Linked DNA regions of Homo sapiens: region 1 is linked to region 2. Evidence: promoter capture Hi-C in human tissues and cell types (Jung and others, 2019). All regions are on one chromosome and are shown on one strand. Each heading gives the region's core, a stretch centred on a gene start or on the middle of the fragment in contact. The rest is flanking DNA. Distances are from core to core; before and after follow the strand shown. Region 1 has its middle 19 kb from the start of TUBA3E. Region 2 holds the start of TUBA3D (tubulin alpha 3d).

Evidence for each region. The method cuts DNA at HindIII sites, captures the fragments that hold promoters and counts their contacts. A contact is called where the count stands out against the background at its distance.
Region 1: a fragment that was not itself captured here is called in contact with the fragment with the promoter of TUBA3D in region 2 in 1 of the 25 tissues and cell types used here (lymphoblastoid cells).

Annotation. Positions count from the first base shown.
Region 1 is chr2:130,215,332-130,219,298 of GRCh38, forward strand. No RefSeq gene overlaps it. Among named protein-coding and RNA genes, the nearest start is that of TUBA3E, 19 kb to the left of the region's middle. The HindIII fragment of the contact is 3,319 bases long and covers 207-3,525 here.
Region 2 is chr2:131,473,361-131,477,459 of GRCh38, forward strand. TUBA3D (tubulin alpha 3d) reads left to right here and starts at 2,759. Exons shown (of 5, transcript NM_080386.4): 1 at 2,759-2,842. The coding sequence starts at 2,840. It also overlaps a transcript of MZT2A not described here. The HindIII fragment of the contact is 16,461 bases long and covers 1-4,099 here.

The sequences.
Region 1 (3,967 bases), core at 616-3,115, 1.3 Mb before region 2:
ATTATATCAGTGGCTGTGTAATTGATGTTTCATTCTAATATGTATATTTCATTTTTCCTGTCATATTGCACTGGGAATAAAACCTGAACAGTACTGAATACTCTCAGTGAAAGTAGTCATGCTTTTTCTCTTACCAACAGAAATTCCTTTAGTAATTCATCAAGATGTTTAATGTAGAATTCTTTAAAAAATCAAAACCACAATGAGATACCATGTCATGTCAGTTAGAATGGTGATCATTAAAGAGTCAGAAAACAACAGATGTTGGAGAGGATGTGGAGAAGTAGGAACACTTTTACACTGTTGGTGAAGCTGTAAATTAGTTCAACCATTGTAGAACACAGTGTGGTGATTCCTCAAGGATCTAGATCAAGAAATACCATTTGACCCAGCAATCCCATTACTGGGATTATAAGGATTTACATTTCCAAAGGATTATAAATCATTTTACTATAAAGACACATGCACATGTTTGTTCATTGCAGCACTATTCACAGTAGCAAAGACTTGGAACCAACCCAAATGCTCATCAATGATAGACTGGATAAAGAAAATGTGGCACATATACACCATGGAATACTACACAGCCATTAAAAAGGATGAGTTCATGTCCTTTACAAGGACATGGATGAAGCTGGAAACCATCATTCTCAGCAAACTAACACAGGAACAGAAAACCAAATATTGCATGTTCTCACTCATAAGTGGGAGGTTAACAATGAGAACACATGGACACAGGGAGGGGAACATCACACACTGGGGCCTGTTGGGGGTGGGGGGCTAGGGGAGGGATAGCATTAGGAGAAATACCTAATGTAGATGATGGGTTGATGGATGCAGCAAACCACCATGGCACATGTATACCTATGTAACAAACCTGCACATTCTGCACATTTACCCCAGAACTTAAAGTATAATTTTTAAAAAATCAAATTAAGGTATTATAAAGCTTTTAGATGTTTGTCTCACTTCAATACTATTTTTCTTTAGTTTACCATGTAACCATCCAAAACTAAATCATCCCCCACCTCAGTTAGGCATCTTAGCATAAGTCCAGTTACTCAGAAGTCTCAGCTTTGCTTCCTCTTCCCCTACAACCCACTTTTAGAATGTAAGCAAGTCCTCTCCTGGTTTTCTTTTCTCCATTCCTACATCTTAGTTAAAGCTTTTACATCTTCACCATGCAGACCACAAAGACCACTAAAAATGAGACAGATAATAGACACAGGCTCCCATTTCTGGGTTCTGGGACCAAAGTTTAAATCAGAAGCACAGCATAATGCTATTAATTGGTAGTGTGTTTGGGCCTTATTGAAAGAGCCTACCTCAAGTGTTGAGACAGAAATTGAAAATAATCATACAGGAAAATACTGTAGAACTCAGTAGTCCAGAAAGCTCTATTACAGGCTGGGCACTGGCTTATGCCTGGCTCATGCCTGTAATCTCAGCACTTTGGGTGGCTGAGGCAGGTGAATCATCTGAGGTCAGGAGTTTGAGACCAGCCTGCCAACATGGTGAAACCCCATCTCTACTAAAAACCCCAAAATCAAGCCAGGCATGGTGGCGTGCACCTGTAATCCCAGTTACTCCAGAGGCTGAGGCAGGAGAATCATTTGAACCCAGGAGACGGAGGTTGCAATGAGCCGAGATAGCACCATTGTACTCAAGCCTAGTCGACAGAGGGAGACTCTGTCAACAAAGAAAGAAAGGAAGAAAGAAAGGAAGGAAGGAAGGAAAGGAAAGCTCTATTACAGAAAGCAATGTGAATTGGAATTGCTTTATGGTCATAAAGGAAATATTTTGGCCACTCTGAGGGATGTTCCAGGCAATAGTTTCAGTCTTACTCTAGCTATATAACCCTCTCAGGTCAGCAAAAAGGGTCAAAAAAACCAGCCAGTGTTCAGAATGAACATGCATTTGAGATTTGTGAGAAGGAGAACTCACATCTAAAGTCTAGAAGAACAGGTCCTAGGTGTTCTGGCCGTAATTCATTGGTTACTGATACCATATGATTGCAATGACATTCTATGTTGTAAGGGCAATGCTTGCTGCCAAGACACAAAACCTTGTACAAAGCTTTCTGGTTTTGGCCCCTCGTTTAACAAAGATATAATTCTGGTTATTTTCTTTCTTTTTTTTTTTTTTTTTTTTTTTCTTTTTATTCCTCCCAGAGCCTTGCCATTTCTTCCCCACCCCCCTCCGCCCCCGTCCCCCGCTCTTTTTTTTTTTTTTTTTTTTTTTTTTAAGATGGAGTGTCGCTCTGTCACCAGGCTGGAGTGCAGTGGTGCGATCTCGGCTCAGGGCAACCTCTGACTCCCTAGTTCAAGCGATTCTCCTGCCTCAGCCTCCCGAGTAGCTGGGATTACAGGCACACGCCACCATGCCCAGCTAATTTTTGTATTTTTAGTAGAGACGGGGTTTCACCATGTTGGCCAGGATGGTCTCAATCTCCCGACCTCGGGATCTGTCCGCCTCGGCCTCGCAAAGTGCTGGGATTACAGGCGTGAGCCACTGTGCTCGGCAGCCATTTCTTCCTTTAATCTCCAGCTGTTTCACCCCAAGATGGTCAAGACAATTTTTTATTTTTATATTTTATTATTATTATTTTTGAGACGGAGTCTCGCTGTCGCCCAGGCTGGAGTGCAGAGGCGCGATCTCGGCTCACTGCAAGCTCCGCCTCCTGAGTTCACGCCATTCTCCTGCCTCAACCTCCGGAGTAGCTGGGACTACAGGCGCCCGCCACCGTGCCCAGCTAATTTTTTTGTATTTTTAGTAGAAACGGGGTTTCACCGTGTTAGCCAGGATGGTGTCGATCTCCTGACCTCGTGATCCGCCCGCCTCGGCCTCCCAAAGTGCTGGGATTACAGGCGTGAGCCACGGTGCCCGGCCAAGATTGCAAGAAGACAGGAAGTAACACTTTGTCCTCTAATTTATCTCATAGGTGAAACTTTCTTTCTTTTTTCTAAGAAGTACCACTAGAATATAATCCTAAAATTTAATGGTTGAGAGACTTAACTATAGAATTTGCTTTCTGTTGATGTTATAGGGGCTTCCTTCTAACTCAGATGAATTTACTCTGAAAATGGCAAATGGTTCCCCCACTTACCCGAGGATGGAAGAACAAGTTATAAGTTGCATTCACTTGCTGAAGATACCTTAAGTATTTAGAATTGCGATAATGTGCTGAACTCAAATAGTTGAAACAAGTAACTTCTGGGGCAGCAGGTACTTATGTCAGCAATTGGCTTATTCCTTGACGCCAATGTTTTGGCTTTGTTTGGTGAATTGGTGGTTGACTTGATCCTTACTTGCTATTCAGACTGCCTCTGATCTTTCTGAGAGCCAGAACAATCTGGATGGTTCATTTGACATTGGTCAGAAAGGTCCTTAATCTTTAAATACACCAGTTCAAGCACAGAGTCATAAGATGAGATGAGGAGATGAAAGGTGGCTCACTTTGGGAGGCTGAAGTGGGTGGACAGCTTGAGCCCAGGAGTTCGAGACCAGCCTGGGCAACATGGGGAAACCTCATCTCTATGAAAAACTACAAAAAATTAGCCAGACTTTGTGGTGCATGCCTGTATTCCCAGCTACCCAGGAGGCTGAGGTGGGAGGAACTGAGCCTGGAAGGCCGAGGCATCAGTGAGCTGTGGTTGCATCACTGCTCTACAGCCTGGGCAACAGAGTGAGACCCTGTCTCAAAAAAAAAAAAAAAAGACCAACAAAACAAAAAAAATTCAAATAGGCCCCTCCAAGGAGCAACCATTTGTCTACAAGGAGTAAGGAGACTTCTACATCTTGGCAGTACTTGAAGACGGTGGGAAATTATCACGTCACATTCTGTTACAGTTTGGGGGCTACTCCAAAAGAAATTTCTTAATGCAACACTTTCACAAGAAAAGATAATGTGCTACTAGTGCTACCATTGTATGAGTGAGAGAAGGGGAGTGATTAATGTGTTACAGCC
Region 2 (4,099 bases), core at 1,509-4,008:
TCAGAGGTCCCCAAAGGCCACAGAAAAGTCTCAACTCCTGGACCTCATGAGTCCCATCCCACTGGGGGAGCTCCCTCTCTCTTCTCTGCTCTCCTCTCAGGAGGGAAAGTTAAGGGCCTGCTTGGCCACCCTCCAGGGAGATGCCATGGTGGGATGCTGCATCCTGGTGATGAGCTGGGGGTAAGCCAGCATGTCTCCTCCAGGGCTTTTCCCAGAACTGAATACACACTAAGATGATCTTTAGGGATGGAAGAATCAAACTGGGAAGAATCACACACCTGTAGTCCCACCCTACAAGGAAGGCTGAGGCTGGGGGATCACTTGAGCCCAGGAATTTGAGTCCAGCCTGGTCAACATAGTGAGAACCAGTGTCAAAAAATAAATAAATAAAAAGGAAGAATCAGGTGACTGTTCCAAACTCCTCCAAAATGGGTATTGGGTCCCGACTCTGCTCTTCCCGGGACAGGGGTGTGCCTTCCCCTTTCCTGTTGTCCATAAACCCACTCCCTCTCACTAAAGAAATAAGAAAAAGTGTTCACAGCACTTTGAGTTATGCGAGGTGTGCAGAATTTATCAGGCCCAGAGAGACAGGAATATGGACTTCAGTCACACGCCTTGTACTCATGCCCTGGGGTGACTGTTTAAAGGCATTTTGTTCCTGACTAGCTCAACCCATTATCTTCCTGTTCCTGGAATTTGTGATACCAAAGACAATGTAGACAATGTAGAGACAATAAATAGCTTTTTTTTTTTTTGAGACAGAGTCTCGCTGTGTTGCCCAGGCTGGAGTGCAGTGGTGCTATCTCGGCTCACTGCAAGCTCCACCTCCCGGGTTCATGCCATCCTCCTGCCTCGGCATCCAGAGTAGCTGGGACTGCAGGCACCCGCCGCCACGCCCGGCTAATTTTTTGTATTTTTAGTAGAGACGGGGTTTTACCGTGTTAGCCAGGATGGTCTCGATCTCCTGACCTCGTGATCCGCCTGCCTTGGCCTCCCTAAGTGCTGGGATTACAGGCATGAGCCACCGCGCCCAGTCTTCTTCTTCTTTTTTTTTTTTTTTTTTTTTTGAGATGGAGTTTCACTCTATTGCCCAGGCTGGAGTGCAATGGTGTGATCTTGACTCACTGCAAACTCCGCCTCCCGGGTTCAAGTGATTATCCTACCTCAGCCTCCCAAGTAGCTGGGACTATAGGTGCTCACCACCATGCCTGGCTAATTTTTGTATTTTTAGTAGAGGAAGGGTTTCATCATGTTGGCCAGACTGGTCTTGAACTCCTGACCTCAAGTGATCCTCCCACCTTGGCCTCCCAAAGTGCTGGGATTACAGGTGTGAGCCACCACGCCTGACCCAATAAATAGCTTACGTTATTTTCATATAAATTCCTCAGGCTAGGCCAGCCAAGGTGGGAGGATCCCTTCAGGTCAGGAGTTCAAGACTAGCCTGGACAACACAGCAAGACTTCTTCTCTAATTTCAAATTCTTGGTAAACAACTTAGGAACTGCCTCTTCTTTTCCTTTATAAAACCCACTTATAACTGCTGCCAATATATTAAGACAACTTGCATCTCCAGGGTTGCACTTCTCAAACTTGGCCCAAATAAACTCTATTTTTTTTTCAAGATGGAGTTTCGCTCTGTCGCCCAGGCTTGAGTGCAGTGGCGTGATCTCAGCTCACTGCAACCTCTGCCTCCCAGGTTCAAGGGATTCTCCTGCCTCAGCCTCCTGAGTAGCTGGGATTACAGGCATGCGCCACCGTGCCTTGCTAATTTTATTTTATTTTTTTGTATTTTTTGTAAAAACGGGCAAGGTGGGTCTCACCACGTTGCCCAGGCTGGTCTTGAACTCCTGACCTGAAGCAGTCCTCCTGCCATGGCCTCCCAAAGCATTGGAATTACAGGCATGAGCTGGTGTGCCTGACCCAACGTCTCCACTTACGTTAATTTTGCCTCCTTTCTTCCTTTTTTTTTTTTTTTTTTTTTTTTTTGAAACGGAGTATGGCTCTGTTGCCCAGGCTGGAGTGTGCAGTGGCCCAATCTCGGCTCACTGCAACAACTGCCTCCCAGTTTCAAGCGATTCTCCTACCTCAGCCTCCCGTGTAGCTGGGATTACAGGTGCCTACCACCAGCCAGGGTAATTTTTGTATTTTTAGTAGAGACGGGTTTTCACCATATTGGCCAGGCTGGTCTTGGGAACTCTTGACCTCAGGTGATCCACCCGCCTCGGCCTCCCAAAGTGCTGGGATTGCGGGCGTTAGCCATCGCGCCCGGCCCGTTTTCTCCTTTTGGGTCACAAAAGTGATTGAATCCTGCCACTTCCCAGGTGCTGGGTGGGAACAGGGAAGAGGGGGATAATTGCGGTGCTGCTGTGACTTGGGTAGATGGCGGCAAGGCCTCTCAGAGGTGGCCTTGTTTGCAAAGATCTGAATTAGGCAGGGAGAGGGGCAGGCCTGGGGCAATCAGGGAGGGGCAGTGGCACACTGGGAGCAAGGCAATGTTCCGCGACCCACAGAGGCAGCGCAGTAGCTGTTCCAACCCTGGTCAGAAGACACCCCGGAAATGCCTCAGCAACCGCGCAGCCTTTGATGACCCCCGCTGCCTTCCCGCCAATCCTACATCCAATCAGAGAGCGTCCCCAGTACACATGTTGAGCAATGGCCAATCAGAACTGGGATCCGGCCCTCAGCCCGCCTCCCAGGAACTCCGAGCCAATGGCGGCCTGGCACCGGCGGGCCAATCCCGTGCGGCGCGCACAGGCAGGAGGTTGCAGTTGGGCGCTCAGCAGCTGTGGCAGCCGGTTGAGGTCTGGCAGTAGCGTTGGGCTGAAGCAGCGGAGTTCGCCATGGTAAGGCCCGGGTCACTCCCGCCCCGCAGATGCCCAGGCAGACGAAGTTGGCCTCGGGTGGACAGAGGGACGTTGTTGCGGGCCTGGGCGCTGAGAGGAGGCCAGAGAAGGACGCAGGGTCTAGTGCGGGACAGGAGGACACGGGATCGTTTCCTGGATCTTTGGGTCCCAGGGCAGGGACGGCGGCTTTTGTTTTAGATGAAGCTGCCGGCCTTTAGTGAACGGGACCATTGACGGTGTCCCGTCCCCCAGAGAGCAAATAGTGGCGTCGCCTCCTGAAGACGGGAGGGCGCTGCTCCCGCTTCACACGTCTTTGTGCTACTCGAAACAACTGAGGAGCCCCAGGAGCCTTCGGTGACGGGGGTTGGGGCTGTGGACATTGATCAGATGAGGAATTAAGGCTCAGACGCTGCTGCAACATTGCCTTGTTCACCTAAAGGCAACCGTTAGGCCAGGCGCGGCGGCTCACGCCTGGAATCCCAGCCCTTGGGGAGGTGGAGGCGGGCGGATCACCTGATGTCTGGAGTTCAAGATCAGCCCGACCAACATGGCGAAACCCAGTCTCTACAAAAAAATACAAAAATTACCCGGGCATGGTGATGCGAGTCTGTGGTTCCAGCTACTCGGGAGGCTGAGGTGGGAGGATCAGCCGAGCCTGGAACTTTGAGGCTGCAGTGAGTCGTGATGGCGCCAGTGCACTCCAGCCTGGGCCACAGAGACCCTGCCTCAAAGACACAAACAAAAAAAGCAGCCCATTAACATAACAGATTCCCAAGTCCCAAGTCTGAATAGCTGTGGTTTGTCAGTTATCCTTTTTTTCCTTTCTTTTTCTTTCTTTTTTTTTTTTGAGACAGCACTCAACAAATGCTGTGTTGCCCAGGCTGGAGCACAGTTGCAGGATCACGGCTCCCTGCAGCCTTGAACCCCTGGCTTCCAGCAGCCCTCCCACCTCAGCCTTCCGAGTAGCTGGTACTACAGGTGTGTGCCACCACACCTGGCTAATTTGTAGATTTTTCATAGGGACAGGGACTCACTATGTTACCCAGGCTGGTCTCAAACTGGTCCCAAGTGATCCTCTCACCTCAGCCTTCTAAAGTGCTGGGATTATAGGAATGAGCCACCACACCCAGCTTGGCAGGGTTTAAAGAAACCACCAAAGGACAGTGCAGTGTCCCAGCACTAATGACGTCTGGGAGCCATTACAGGCTTCAAGGGGTAGAGAGAGGGAGTGGTTACAAGAAATTGGGAGGGTAGTTT